4 separate regions of the Homo sapiens genome follow, and all the other regions are linked to region 3. Evidence: promoter capture Hi-C in 16 types of primary human blood cells and fetal thymus (Javierre and others, 2016). All regions are on one chromosome and are shown on one strand. Each heading gives the region's core, a stretch centred on a gene start or on the middle of the fragment in contact. The rest is flanking DNA. Distances are from core to core; before and after follow the strand shown. Region 1 overlaps ERAP2 (endoplasmic reticulum aminopeptidase 2). Region 2 overlaps ERAP2 (endoplasmic reticulum aminopeptidase 2). Region 3 holds the start of ARRDC3 (arrestin domain containing 3). Region 4 holds the start of LNPEP (leucyl and cystinyl aminopeptidase).

The links. Contacts are between HindIII fragments. The CHiCAGO score rates a contact against its expected background, and 5 or more counts as called.
Region 1: a fragment that was not itself captured here is called in contact with the fragment with the promoter of ARRDC3 in region 3 in 1 of 17 cell types (total CD4 T cells); the score reaches 6.3 in total CD4 T cells.
Region 2: a contact is called between a fragment that was not itself captured here and the fragment with the promoter of ARRDC3 in region 3, in 1 of 17 cell types (fetal thymus). The highest score is 5.4, in fetal thymus.
Region 4: a contact is called between the fragment with the promoter of LNPEP here and the fragment with the promoter of ARRDC3 in region 3, in 1 of 17 cell types (fetal thymus). The highest score is 10.7, in fetal thymus.

The regions. Positions count from the first base shown.
Region 1 is chr5:96,895,961-96,899,533 of GRCh38, reverse strand. ERAP2 (endoplasmic reticulum aminopeptidase 2) reads right to left here. Exons shown (of 19, transcript NM_022350.5): 8 at 3,030-3,161; 9 at 2,671-2,802. It also overlaps a transcript of ERAP1 not described here. Among named protein-coding and RNA genes, the nearest start is that of ERAP2, 21 kb to the right of the region's middle. RefSeq lists an enhancer at 2,349-2,408. The HindIII fragment of the contact is 2,192 bases long and covers 684-2,875 here.
Region 2 is chr5:96,878,015-96,881,512 of GRCh38, reverse strand. It overlaps ERAP2 (endoplasmic reticulum aminopeptidase 2), which reads right to left. Exons shown (of 19, transcript NM_022350.5): 2 at 1,253-1,949. The coding sequence starts at 1,827. It also overlaps a transcript of ERAP1 not described here. Among named protein-coding and RNA genes, the nearest start is that of ERAP2, 3.3 kb to the right of the region's middle. The HindIII fragment of the contact is 5,584 bases long and covers 1-3,498 here.
Region 3 is chr5:91,382,016-91,385,743 of GRCh38, reverse strand. ARRDC3 (arrestin domain containing 3) reads left to right here and starts at 2,427. Exons shown (of 8, transcript NM_020801.4): 1 at 2,427-2,931. The coding sequence starts at 2,652. All of the region lies in intron 1 of ARRDC3-AS1 (ARRDC3 antisense RNA 1), which reads right to left. RefSeq lists enhancers at 1,661-1,960, 1,840-2,357 and a silencer at 2,211-2,520. The HindIII fragment of the contact is 1,076 bases long and covers 1,613-2,688 here.
Region 4 is chr5:96,934,230-96,937,774 of GRCh38, reverse strand. LNPEP (leucyl and cystinyl aminopeptidase) reads right to left here and starts at 1,695. Exons shown (of 18, transcript NM_005575.3): 1 at 1,601-1,695. The coding sequence starts at 1,619. It overlaps LOC124901030, which reads left to right and starts at 1,700. Exons shown (of 1, transcript XM_047417984.1): 1 at 1,700-3,545. The coding sequence starts at 1,700. The coding sequence ends at 2,404. It also overlaps a transcript of ERAP1 not described here. RefSeq lists silencers at 1,162-1,241, 1,372-1,441, 2,382-2,451, 2,892-3,011 and enhancers at 2,032-2,341, 2,642-2,781, 3,092-3,221, 3,282-3,491. The HindIII fragment of the contact is 7,112 bases long and covers 1-3,545 here.

The DNA.
Region 1 (3,573 bases), core at 530-3,029, 5.5 Mb before region 3:
CAAATGAGAAAAAATGAAGAATGTGCTAAGGCTCTCAAATGCCTTTAAATGATCTTATGAAAAATAACAGCAACTAATTCTTCTCATTCTCAAGTTGCTATTGACATGTATTAGAATTGACTTTATGTGACACAATGGTGGGCAAGATATTTTCAGTAATTTATTATTTTAATACTACAGGGCCCTTTGGTGTCAGAAGAGAGTTGGTCAAAATCTAGGACCTTTAGGGGAAGATTGATGGGGGACTTTTCTTAAAACTAGGAACTAGCTGTGATATAATTGAATAACTATTGGACTTAGAAGACAAATTTTAAGTACTGATTTTCTCACTGACTTGGTGACTTTGGGCAAATCTGTCCCTTAGTATCAGTTTTCTCACTTATAAACACAGAGTAATGATGATTACTTTATCTTTTGAGATGATTATAAGCATGATGTGACAAAAAATAACACAGGAATTTACACTGCTGGCCTAAAATGATCTGGTAATTGCTGGCCAAATTTTCTTTTTAACTCCCACCCTCTACTGCCAGTATGCACACCAAATGATAGATTCTTCCGTGTTGGAGGGGAGCTAAACTGATGTCTACAAATATACATACATGCACACACACATGGCAAGGGAGAGGGAAATGGAGAGGGATGAGAGACAGAAGCAACACAATACTTGGTGCTGAGAAGCTTAAGCGGAAGCATGGAGAAAGTGTGTCTGGACCACTGACGGTGGGTGATGGAAATGGATAGTAAAGAGCATCTTTATATGTTTTTTGTTTGTTTGTTTGTTTTGTTTTGTTTTAAGACAGAGTCTCACTCTGTCACCAGGCTGGAGTCCAGTGGTGTGATCTCAGCTCATTGCAACTCCGCCTCCTGGATTCAAGTGATTCTCCTGCCTCAACCTCCCGAGTAGCTGGGATTACAGGTGATCCACCAGACCTGGCTAATTTTTTTTTTTTTTTTTTTTGTATTTTAGTAGAGATGGGTTTTCACCATGTTGGCCAGACTGACCTCAGGCAATTTGCCCACCTCGGTCTCCCAAAGTGATGGGATTACAAGCATGAGCCACCGCACCAGGCCTATAAGTATTTTTGTAAGTAAAAACTATGTATTTGAATATGTCTCAGGATTTTCAAGAAATGCAAGTAAAAAATAGGAGCTGTGAAATAATTTTTGATTGTTGGATTTTGTTTCTTTAACCACAAAATCACACATCAGTTGGACCATAAGTGTGCTTTATAAGGGCACAAAAATATCAAATGAGATAATCAACATGAAAGTGCTTTTTATTCTTTAACTTTGATTTTTTATTTATTATTAATTATTGTTATTATTATTATTATTGAGACAGAGTCTCACTCTGTCACCCAGGCTGGAGTGCAGTGGTGCAATCTCGGCTCACTGCAACCTCCAGCTCCTGGGTTCAAGTGATTCTCCTGCCTTAGCCTCACGAATAGCTGGGATTACAGGCAAGCACCACCATGCCAAGCTAATGTTTGTATTTCTAGTACAGACGGGGTTCCACGAATTGGCCAGGCTGGTCTCAAACTCCTGACCTGAAGTGATCTACCCACCTTGGTGTCCCAAAGTCTTGGGATTACAGGCGTGAGCCATTGTACCCGGCCATGAAAGTGTCTTTAAACTGTAAACTGCTGCAGAAATATTAAACAATATTATTACTGTCCCTGGGACACAAGTGCTTGTAAAAAAGAAAGGATCTCTTCTGTCTACAATGACTTAGGGTTCTTCTAATTACAGGTATGAGTTCTCTGGGTCTAATGGTTCTATAAAAAATTATTTTCTTTGCAGTTGGAAATTTTAAAATATTTTAATAATTATTAGAATCATCTGAATTAACTGAATTTTTCTGCTTTGCCTTTCCTATTATCTACATGAATCCCAAAGACAGACCATAAGTTCTTTAATCAATCATTAACTGCTTATTAATCACTATTATAAGATCAACATATGCTAGGTGCTATCACATTAAAAAAAGAATAGACACAATTTTTGTTCTTAAGCACATTATCATTATTGAACTAATAAAAACAATAAAAGAGGGTACTATTATGTGGAACAGATTATAAGTGCACTGCTAAGAATTTAGCAGACAGGCAAACGAATGAGGGCTGGAACAGTCTGTAAGGAGGAGGTGAAATCTCAGCTGGATCTTAAAAGTTGGGTGGCATTTGAATTGTTGGAAAGAAGAAAGGGCATTTCAGCTAGTAAAGGCACTAGAAATATAGGCACAATGATCTAGAGATTGAGCAAGATTTCTTCTTATAAGAGAGAAGATTAGTTTTGCTCAACAAATATATACACATTGGGGAATACAGTTGACAACCTTAAAATTTGCCAGAGATTAGGTGTTATATGGTAGAAATTACAACATTTTAAAGATTTTAGATCAAGGGAACATAAAAGTGTAGGATTAGTCGTAGAAGAGAAACCAAAGAAAGTCAGGTCAAATAGTGAGCCCCTGGGGCCACCCCAGCGTGACATCCTAGTGTGGTGTTAGAGGAAAAAGGGAAGTGCTGCCTTCTATAGACCATGACAACATAGCAAGCAGAATAAATATGGTTGACTGACAATATATAGCTATTTATAAACATTCACAATTATTCTGTTACTTTCTAGATTAAATAACAGTCTATCGTTACCCAACATATGACTTACATTTGACAGACTGCTCCACAAGTCATCATTCTTAGCATTTCTATAGCTGAACTTCTTTAAGTACTGAATTATTCCTTTCTGGAATTTCTCCTCACCCAGAAAATCCTTGAGCATATTCAAAATACAAGCTCCCTTTAAAAAAAAACAAAAGAGTTGAAAAAAGAGATAAAGAAAATGGTAGTATGGTATGTTTTTAAAGGAAGCTTAAATTTTACGGAACATGTGTGATGTCTGAAAAGTGAACAAATAAAAAGTGAAACAAGTAGCAGGAACTGGCACCAGTGACTTAAACTGCTGATTCTATAGTCATTATTACACTTCTGAAAGCAGAGCTTCCACCTGCACCTGATATTTACTACCTTGTTATAGGAAACTTCATCAAACATTTCCTGTATTTGAGTCGGGGTTTCCGCTGGTTTGGAGATAGGGCGGGATGAATTCAATGAATCTTTTGTAATTACTTCAAAACACACATTCAAAAAATAGTCATCCTAAACAGGGAGAAAAATGTTTAGTTTTAGTTTCTATTTGACACTGTAAAAGCAATAGAAAACATAGTAGGTTTAGTAAGATGTTCTTAGAGGTAAGATTTCAATCGATATTTCTTGGGAGATGTTTCTTTTCTTGTATGTATTCCCCTTTGGCCAAAGGGGAATACATCTTTTTAAAGTTTCTCTACTTTAAAAAGATACAAATCCAATATTCCTTCAGACATTGCCTGAATGTTTATCATGTACCAGCCCTTGAATACAGAAATAAAATAATGGTTTCCATTTAGTGAATACTTGTTACGTGCCTAGACCTATCATCTGCAATCCTGTCAACACCTCTGCAAGGGAGATATGGTATATGCATTTTACAAATAAGAATATATAAAGCTTTGGCATTAAGCCACAAATTCAG
Region 2 (3,498 bases), core at 111-2,610, 5.5 Mb before region 3:
CGTGAGAGTGCACTGAGCCAGACTCCTCTTACCTCCCAGATGGATCCTGGCCCTGGGAAACCAAGCCGTCCACTCTATGAAGCATCCTTGATTCTTCTATTTCCCTCACCTCACATGACCAATATGTCAGCAATCTCTGTTGTTTTGCCCTCCAAAATAACTGCCAAGTTCAATTGTTTCACTCCATAAGCACTGCCACTAGCCTGGCCCAAATTAGCATCACTTCTTACCTGAACTACTGCAATGACCTCCCAATTGATTACTCTGCTTCTCTATAACATACCCTCAACATAGACTTGATCTTTATAAAGCATAAATCAGAGCAGAATCCTCCAGTGATTTCCCATTTCATCTGAGTTAAAGTCAAAACTCCTTACAAGACGCCCCAAGGCTCCACATGATCTGATCCCTTTCTCCCTCTTGTTCGCTCTCCTCAGCTTACACTGGCCTTCCTCAACCAATCCCACTTTAGAGCACTTGCCCCGAGATGTTCTCATAACTGTCTCTTTAAAAAAAAACTCAGCTCTCAATTTAAATTCACTTCCTCAACAAACACTTCCCTGCCCAGTCAACTGAATTAGTTTCAATCTCCAGCCTCATTTTCTACCTTTCTTGCACCTTGTTTTATTTCATTCATAACACTGGCCAATTACCTTGCCAATTTTATTGATTTTCTTGTCCTGGTTGTCTCTTCCATCAGATCCCACCATTATACATTCAGTGCCTAGTGCAGTGCCTGGCACATAGTATGTGCTCAATGAATGTGACTTGATCAAATTGACTATATTTCTCAATTTTCCAAACTAGTTCCTTGTTTCTGACTATTCGATATGAGTCATGGCTGTTACCTAGGCAATGTATACTTTGTCACTTCCTCTCTCCCAATCCCAGTCTCACTTACATTTCCTTCTGGTCCCAGATGAAGACTCACTTCCTTTGAGAAGCATTCCCTATTTCAGCCCTCTCTGCACTGACCATCTCTTTCCCTAGCACATAAGCATATCTATCATATCAGTCATATACTGGCCTCTCCTCCTAGTTATTCACCCTCTAGCTGTTTATGCCTCTGAGTCCTGTCTTTACATCTCTACTGTGGTTTCCTTAAGGAATGGTAGATCTTTTCCTTCTTCTGGGTTCCCCATAGTTCACTGGATTTCTCATAAATGGCTGCTGAAGTCTGCTCCTGGCAAAGAGATGTAACTCGTAAGGAAATTATCACAAAAGAATGTAAATTACCTGAGCAAGTTCTTACCTTGTTTCACCACCAAGAGTTCTGTATGTGCTTTTATAAAACCCTTCAAAGCCATCACCTAACTTGGCTTGGAAGTCCATAGCCACATAGTATTTCAGGTGAGGCGTAAGTTTCTCTGGAACCAGCAGTGCAATTTGTTCATGAGCAGGGTAACTCAAAACTTTCAGTTCTTTTCCTGGTTTCATGTATCTTGAATCTTCCTCTGACTGAAGGGTGGCATTCGTGATTTCAAGATCTTTGCTGTGCAAGATGATAAACTGGGTAGCATTGCTGACCAAGACTTCGATCTTCTCAGATGCAACAAAGTCCAGAGAGGTGAGATTGGGGTGGACAAAGAGGTCATAATGGAGAGGAATGACCACACTGGGGAGCCTTAGCTCCTGCCAAGGAAATCGTTCCCCATTAGTGGCTACTGGGAAAGCCCCAGGATCCTCAGTGAAGTGATAACTAGATGGCACTGAGAACTGAGAACAAATGCATATTTGGGGCAAGATGGCTGTTAAGCAGTAAAATCCTCTGTGAATGTTAAACATTGGTTTTCTGTGTGAATTAACCATTGCAGAAGAATGGAACATGAAATCTATTCTCTAGAAGACAAGTTAATATCCAGGCTAATCTCGTAGTTCTTCATGGCACTGCACTGGCTCCAGTTATGTCACATGGGGTCTGAACAATATTTTCAATACATGAATTTAATCTAGAAGAAAAAAACACACTTATAGCATGACAAAAAAGATTTCAATTTACAAATAAAATCTTAAACATGTAAAAAGGTATGTGTGAGTAAGGGAAAATCTGCTCTCTGTCAGAATTAGGCCAAGTATCCACAAAATAGAGCAGAAATTAAGCTGTTATCTGGTTATTACAAATAAAAACCCTTTAGGACTCCCCCAAAAAACCCTACCTTAAAATTGAATGTAATGAATTTCTTCTGAATTCTTGTGCAGCGAGCAGAAGGCAGGTGTGTAAATTCATTGCATGTTGAATGTTTTTAACATTTGGTTATATTTTAAATTTTTGTTTATTTATTTATGTTTTAGACAGGGTCTTGCTCTGTTGCCCAGGCAGGAGTAGAGTGTGCAATCATGATCACAGCTCACTGCAGCCTCAACTTCCTGGGCTCAAGTGATCCTCCCACCTCAGCCTCCAGAGTAGCTGGGACTACAGACACACACCGCCACACTCGGCTACCTTTTTTGTAGAGATGGGGGTCTCCCTGTTACCCAGGCTGGTCTCAAACTCCTAAACTCAAGCAATCCTCCCAAACTGTTGGGATTACAAGCGTGAGCCACTGTGACCAGCCTACTTTATTTTTATTCATTTATTTATGTTTTTGAGACGGAATCTCGCTGTTGTCCAGGTTGGAATGCAGTGGCACTATCTTGGCTCACTGCAACCTCTGCCTCTGGGGTTCAAGTGATTCTTCTCCCTCAGCCTCCCGAGTAGCTGGGATTACAGGTATGTGCCACCACACCCAGCTAATTTTTGTATTTTTAGTAGAGACGGGGTTTCACCATGTTGGCCTGGCTAGTCTCGAACTCCTGACCTCAGGTGATCCACTTGCCTCAGCCTCCCAAAGTGCTGAGATCACAGGCGTGGGTCACTGCGCCTGGCCATATTTTATTTTTTTTGAAAGACAATGTGTCACCATGTTGCCCAGGCTGGCCTCAAATTCCTGGGGTCAAGCAATCCTGATGTCTCAGCCTCCCAATTAGCTGGAACCACAGGCACACATGTAATTTTAAGTGTATGCCTGAAAGTAAACTGTGCAAGATGTCTCTATTTTGTCTTCATAAGTCACAAAGAATATTCTATATATATATTCTATATTCTTTGGATACCAGATATTATTATTACTACGAATGGCATTGAACTTCACCTCTTTCAATAACATTATCTGAATGGCCTCATTTTATGGCTACTGGTGTAAAGGTTGCTGGTCAAGGTAGGTATTTATCCCCAGTTTATTTTCAATATGTCAAAAGCCATGGAAATAAATTTTGAGTTTATAATATTCTTACAGAATTTTTTTAAGGTTCGGTTCTTTTCCCTTTACACTACTTTTGAAAGCACAATTAAATCAAACTGAATTTACTACCTTTGTAAATAGAACTAAGTTTCTTTCTTTTTGAAGGGTAAAGCTACAACACATATAAAATTAGGACAAACAGCATAGTTAATTTGGGGGAATCAATTCTTACTGCCACCCTACCACCTGCCTCTACTTACTTCCTTACTGCTCCAAC
Region 3 (3,728 bases), core at 1,178-3,677:
GCTGCTCCGGAGGCTAAGGCAGGAGAATCGCCTGAACCCGGGAGGCAGAGGCCGCAGAGAGCCTAGATTGTGCCACTGCACTCCAGCCTGGGCAACAGAGTGAGACTCCATCTCAAAAAATAAAAATATAATGAAAATGGCAGCTGGTAAGAATTTCTTGGAAATTTGCCAGTTACCTAAGTATTTAAGAAGACACAGTAAAAAGAAAATTTTAAAAATAGCAAAATAAATAATAAAGACAACTATTCAAAAGATCCTGAAAGCTTCAAACACAAAGAATAATGTACTACACAGTGACAGGAATGAAACATTTAATATTTTAAAACAATTTTCCAAACTACAAATAAATTTCTTAGACTTCTTTTTTATTAAATGCAATTCTGGTGTATTTATATAGCTAATTCTTATTTTTTCTGAAATGAGTTATATTCTAATTAAATAAATTTTACTAAAAAAATCCGAATTCAGCTGTTCACTAACCCTTAATAATTTTTAACATAAATGTAGACACAAATGTGCAATGAATTTATGTATTCATTATGGACTACACTTTTAAATCCATTCCTTGCTCAGTGGTTTTCGAATGCTTATTAAATATCATTGACCTTATGCTGAGGAAAAGCTGTCATTCTAGGAAATTCACCACTTCTACCACTAGGTGGAGAAAAAACACAAGTAGTATCTGTAATCAAAGCTAGTACAAGGCCCCAGGTACTTTACCTAGAATTTCCACCAGGTGTCAACCAAGAGGTAGGGAAAAGATAAGACTGTTTTTCCCACTTAAATATGCAAATTTATAATTTTATGCATAGCGATCTAAACTCTGAAATAAATGGCCTGCTCATTAATTGTCTAGTTTGCATATTTATACTCTTTATATATTGCTGTTGAGTCCAAGATATTGCCTTGTCAACTAAAATCCAACCCCCAAAAGCTTAGTTTCTTTTGAAATAAAACAGCAAGACCAATAAGTTTAGTTTATTGTGACTCATAGGCTCAACCTATCCATATACACTACGCAAAAGAATCTAAAACGTTTAGACACGGACAGCCAAAAATCTTCCAAGGTATTTTTGGTCATACATATATATATAGAGAGAGCACCAGATTCATATTTTTTCTTTCTACATTTCTCTTGTAAGGCAGTTCTGTTGATTGCCAGTAATCTAGATGAGTTTATGCTGTTATGCTCTGAATCCCAGTGTGATGTGACGAAAGCACTGCTATTTTTTACCAAACATTCACAATAAAAAGAGAAATGTACCTATATTTAAGATGTATCATGAGAATTACTACGTTAAATGGTCCAAGGCTCTCGGCCGAAAATTAAAGCTTCACACAGTTAAATCCCTATTTATATACCAAATCATGCTTTTTAAAAACAATTTTATGCGCTTCACTAATTTCTAACAAAGATTTTCCGATTCTGTTGCAAACAATATGTCAGCTAAACCACTATGTCATATGCCTTTTATAAGGTAGTACTTTTTTAGGCCGAACTCTATTCTTATTCCTCTGGACACAGGAGTTGTAATCATGTCTTACTCTGCAAATCTAGCCGTAGGTGGTGTCTTAAAAGGACTTTTTCTTCCTTCGAGGAAGTGATCAAGCTTCCCCCAGCCCCCACCCGTGTCATCCTGGAAACAACTTGGTTGTTTTTCGGTGCTAATTAAGCAATGTAGGAGAAAGAAGTTGAGGAGACAGCAAAGCCTATTGATTACATTGTACTTGCTTCTCTACCTCGCTCTTCAAAGGATTAAGGTTCCTTTGACCTCGACTGAGTTCATTTCCAACCTGCCTACAAAGTACTGGTTTAAAAAAAAAAAATCCAAGCAAAGTATGCTCTTGTCTATGAACAATATTTCTTGTCCGGTTTTATTACGTTTTCTTTGGAAATTCGTTAGATTATGCTCAACAATCGGCCGCTTGCCCAACCGGTTTCTCCCTTCCCCCATCTCTCTTCACACATCACTTTTTCCTCCTCCCATCCAGGCAGTTGGTAAAACGCTGCAGTGCCGGTAACGCACGCTTCGGGCTGGTCGCTGCAGTTTATCCTAACTTGGCTTTGCAAACTCCCCACCCAGCCCTTGTACCCTCGCACCCCACTCTGCCATTATCTTTCTAGTAGAGTGCGCTCGGTAACGGGCTCCAGATAGCACGTCGAGGGTATACGGTAGCCTGCCTACCAATAGGAGCCCACAATGAAGAGAAGTCAGGTTCAGCCGGCCAGCAGCTCCAGTATCTCCTTCCCCTAGCTCTACACCTACTGTACCCGGGAGCGAGCGGGCAAGGGAGCGAGCGCGGCGCGGCGCGGCGCGGGAGGGGGCGCGCAGGGAGGGCGGACAGCAGCCGCGGCCTGCGCCTGCGCACTGGGGTTGTTTTTCACAAAGCTGCTCTTAAAGTGAGCTGGCAGCTTTTAGCCGCCCGTCTTTGTAAGGAGACCACTGAGACGAGCGGGAGCGCGGAGCAGCAGCCTCTGCTGCCCTGACTTTTTAAGAAATCTCAATGAACTATTTGTAGAGAATCACTGATCCGGCCTGCAAGCATTTTGCACGGCAAAAATATCGATCAGTGTTAAGTGAAGATCACATTTTATATGCGATCTTGACTTTTTTGTCTTACATTATATTTTTATAGATTTTGTTATAAACATGGTGCTGGGAAAGGTGAAGAGTTTGACAATAAGCTTTGACTGTCTTAATGACAGCAATGTCCCTGTGTATTCTAGTGGGGATACCGTCTCAGGAAGGGTAAATTTAGAAGTTACTGGGGAAATCAGAGTAAAATCTCTTAAAATTCATGCAAGAGGACATGCGAAAGTACGCTGGACTGAATCTAGAAACGCCGGCTCCAATACTGCCTATACACAGAATTACACTGAAGAAGTAGAGTATTTCAACCATAAAGACATCTTAATTGGGCACGAAAGAGGTAAGTTTTTGTTATTCATAAGTCATTGGACTCATTTTCTTTGGAAACGTACCTTTTCAGTTTTCTGAATTAACGTGATTCTACTCCTAGCATAACTAAGCAGTTTGAGAAAGGTTAGCAAAGTTGGAAGGTTTGGATTCTCCTTGACGTTCATCGTGTGTTAAGCCGTAATGCATGCAGGCATCTGCAAAGTGACTGCAAACTACACTTATTCAGCTACCTCTGTACCCGGCTCGGTCTGTGCCACACGCACTTGTAGTCCATTTGCACCTTACTTATAAATTCTGTTTGAATCCAATTCAGTCGTTTTACTAATATATTTTCAAATGAATTGGTAAAAGCTGCAGTCTTAGATTTTTGCCCTTTTACTTGCAACCTAAGATGTAAAAACTGAACTTCGATCAAGAAATGTAATAACATTTTTAAGAGACTTAATGGGTGTGTTTCATTTTTAATATTGGAATGCAAAAGACTTTAAATAATTGATGACTGTTCTTTCATAAAAGATTTCTGTGGCTTATTTTGACATATGGTATCAACACCCCACGTGTTTTTTCTCTATTCTTTACCATTCCTTTAAAAATTTACACCCAGCATTCCTTATTTTAAAGGAATGACTATCTGTCATTATGATAGGTATCGAGTCAGGTTTAGAAGCCATTTAGGATCAGTAATTTTCTTTTCCGAGCATCATGTCTAACTTTGGAACGTGCATTCAATGAAACCCATGCCAGTCAAATGGAATTGAAAAGTATAGGGCACACTGGATTTGATTTTTGGTTAGAAGAGAGAGATAA
Region 4 (3,545 bases), core at 446-2,945, 5.6 Mb before region 3:
CCAATTTTAAAACTTGAGAAAGTACTTTAATTCTGTAGGCAAAGGTTCAGCAAATCAGCTAGCACTAATCTTGACCAAATGGGTGAGTCAGCCTCATCACAGAGATTTTTTTTTTAATTTAGATGAAATTTCACATTTAAAAACATGGTAACTCCAAGCATTCTTCCAAAAACAAAGAATGAACATTGGAATAGTCACTTACAAGGACTTAACGACTTGTATTAAACATATTTTACACTAAAGTACTAGATGGTCTCTAGTTCATTTTAGCTCAAACCTTCCTTAATTCTTCGAGTAACTTCACCAGACTATTCTTTAAGTCTTAGTAATTACAAATAGAACCTGAATGAGAAAGAAAATTCAGAATTAAAGTTGTTATCAGTAAGCCTAATTAAACAGTGCAGACAGAAAGATGGCAGTAGAATAAAGCATTCTACATTAGGAATAGGGAGAATATAATCAGTAGTTCACAGCCCCATGAATGAAGCACAGCATACAACAAAGTCTGGCTGGGATTTGGGATAAAGTGGACAATATCTGTCTGCTCTTGAGTGGTAACTAACAAACTAAACAGGGATATAGACTGTGGCCCCTATTAATGTGATACTGTACCTGAAGTAACCAACCACACTCAGCAAAACATGTCAACCAGAGACTGAATCCTCTTTTAGTGAGTCGTCTCCCTTACTGGCAGTTTTCCTACTTTCTATCTTAAAAGGGAATCCACACACTCAACACCGCAAAACGGTAAGACATCTCACCCCTATATTGTGGCTCTGGCACTTCTGGTCCGCACAAAAGCCATGGTTCTAACTAGGGTGGGATTTATGCTCCCCGTTCAGTGAAGGGCTGTGGCTGTTTGCAGGGTGCAGGCTCCCTGCGTTGACTCTCGCTTCCTGTCACACAGTGGTATCACCACCGTGACGGACCCTTGACATTAACAAGTCTTTGACTGAAAAACTGATGTGATCTGCAGCCAGTGAGGGGATGCGTGGTGGCCCTGCCGAGTACCTCGGCAGGGTCAGGAGGGTGGCACTGTGGCCAGGCACCTCCGCGGCACCGAGCGAGGTGAGCAAGCCTTTCCTGAAGTTTCCCTTCCTTCCACAACATTAACCTGCCAAGCCTCCCACCCCCACCCCGCCCTATTAGGAAAAGTCACGCCGGCAGCTCACTGAAGGGCAGGGGGACAGCTCCTGGCGCCCCACAAAAGTTGGGCTCGGCAGCTGCCACAACTTAACGCTCCTACAGGAGAGTCGGGCCGACACCGCCTCCTCCGGGGGCAAACCTGAGCTGCCAACTTTCCCACTGCCCACTCCTCTGCGCACAGCAGCCCAAACTTTGCTGTTTGCCCACCGGCCGCACCCCGGGCGAGCGGCGGCGGCGCTGACCTTCAAGCCAGCCCCGGGTCCCGCACTGGCCGCCGCCCGCCCCCCGAACCTCCCTGCCTCCCCCAGATCCCCTCTCCCTGCCTCCCTCAGCCCTCGTGGGAAGCCCGCGGTGTTGGGGGAGACGGCTGCAGCCCGACCCCGCGTGTCACGACTGCCCACGACCCTCAGGGCTCCGGAGAGCCCGGGTCCCGGCGCCTCGGCAGCCCACTCACCATTGGTGAAGGGCTCCATTTTCCCCCCGCCGCGGCTCCTTACAGCCGGAGCGCCCGAGCTTCCTACTCCGAGAGCTGAGGCGGCCCAGCTGACTGAGCATGCCCAGCGCGGCCTCCAAGGGCTGCCAGGGAGGTGCCGCGAGGGGCGGCGCCGCTCCGCCGTTCCGGGTTTTCGTGGCAGCTGCAGAAAGAGCGAGGGAAGCAAGAGGGAAAAGCACAGTCAAACCCCCTGCTGCTCCGTGGACAGGCGAGGTGGGAGCGGGTTCGCGCTGGGGGCGGGGCCTAGGCGGGGCCGGGAAAGCCCAGCCCCTACCTGAAGTGGACCCGGCTGCGGCGCTCTCCCCGGCCGGGAACGGTGTTCAGTCACTCAACAAATGTGGAGCCCTACTGCGACCCGCCCGATCCCGGACGCCGAGACACCCGCACTGCGCCAGAAAATCATGGTCCCAGTCCCAGGAGCGGACATTCCAGAAACAGACCATAAATAAACACAGAAGACACACGAGTGTAAAGTCAGTGCCCCGCTGCGAATTAAATCGGGGTGATGTGATGGCGAGTGAGTGGGTAGTTAATTCGGATGGCTTGGTTAGACGAGGCCTCGCTGAGCAGGTGCCACTGAAGCCGAAGTCTGAAGGCAGAGCAGGAACCTGCGGGCGAAGGTCGCTATCTGAACCGCGAATCGCTGGTTTCCCTGGGGAGGTTGGCCGCGGAGGGATCACTGCTCGAAGGACCGAGGGAGCGGGCGCTGTAGGTGTTTTCGGCAGAGATGCCCGCCCGCATCAGAGTGCCTCAGGAGGGCGGTGAGGAGGAGACGGAAGAGAGGGCGGGGACCTCGCAGGGCCGAGGGCGCCCTGGGGTCCAGTCCCGGGGCTGGCGGCTGCCTTGCGGCCTCTAGGTGCGGGCGGATAACAAAACCCGGCGCCGGATCGCCCGGCCCGGGTCGCGGGCGCCGCAGGATGTGGGCAGAAGGCCCGCCTGTTCCGAGCCTTAAATCAACACCTGCGGTTCCCGGGGGTGCTACCACTGGGGCCCGCAGCAAGGCTCCGCGGCGCTAGGCCCGAGAAACCGAAACTCCCCTAGTCGCCCCTGCCCCCCAGCACTCGCGCCATTGCCTCCAGCCCCGAGCCACCATTGTTTCCAGTGCCAAATCGGGCAGCCCCGCTAGCCTCCGAGGCCGAACCGCCAGGGGCCCCATAAGCCCCGAGGAGGCTCGTCGGGAACCGCTTCCTTATCCTCTCGGTATGCGCATCGCCACCACCCTCGCTGCAGAGGCCGCCGCCCTCCCAGCGCGCCATCACCGCCTCCTCTGCCTCTTCCCCTCCCTCAGCCCCGGCCCCTGCATTGACTTGGCTCGGGCTGCGCCTCACTGCGCCTGCCAACTGTCACACGCTCTGAGGCTTTCAACAGCGGGGCGCCAGGGACAAACAAGCCGCGGCAAGCGCAAACAGCCTGCTCAAACAGGGACGGCCAGGGTGTTGTTTGACCAGCACTGGAATTGGAAACTAGGTTTCGAAGAAGTCAAATCGAAGTACAATATTGTATTTTAAACTGCCTGTTGTTATTACATCCCTCACAACGCACGCTCTACTTGAAACTTCCAGTGGATACCAACTGCACTTAGAATAAAAAATGAAACTCCTTGCCTAACTCTGGGACCTCATCAGCACATACTCACCATATTTTGGTAACAAAGGCCTTCATGCTGTTCCCGGAAGTCGCCAAGTTCCATCCATCATTGTTAATAATTCCTTTTGCTCGCTCCTCGCACAAGAACTGTTTCTTCTGCTTAGTGCTTTGCCTACTGATTCCATCTTGTCATTTAAGTCTCGGCTCAAATGTCACCTCTGCAAAGAACCCTTGTCTGACCATACATCTAAAATAGCCACAAACACTCTATAAAGACTTGGCCTTGCTTTATTTCCTTCTCAGCACTCATCACTGTCTG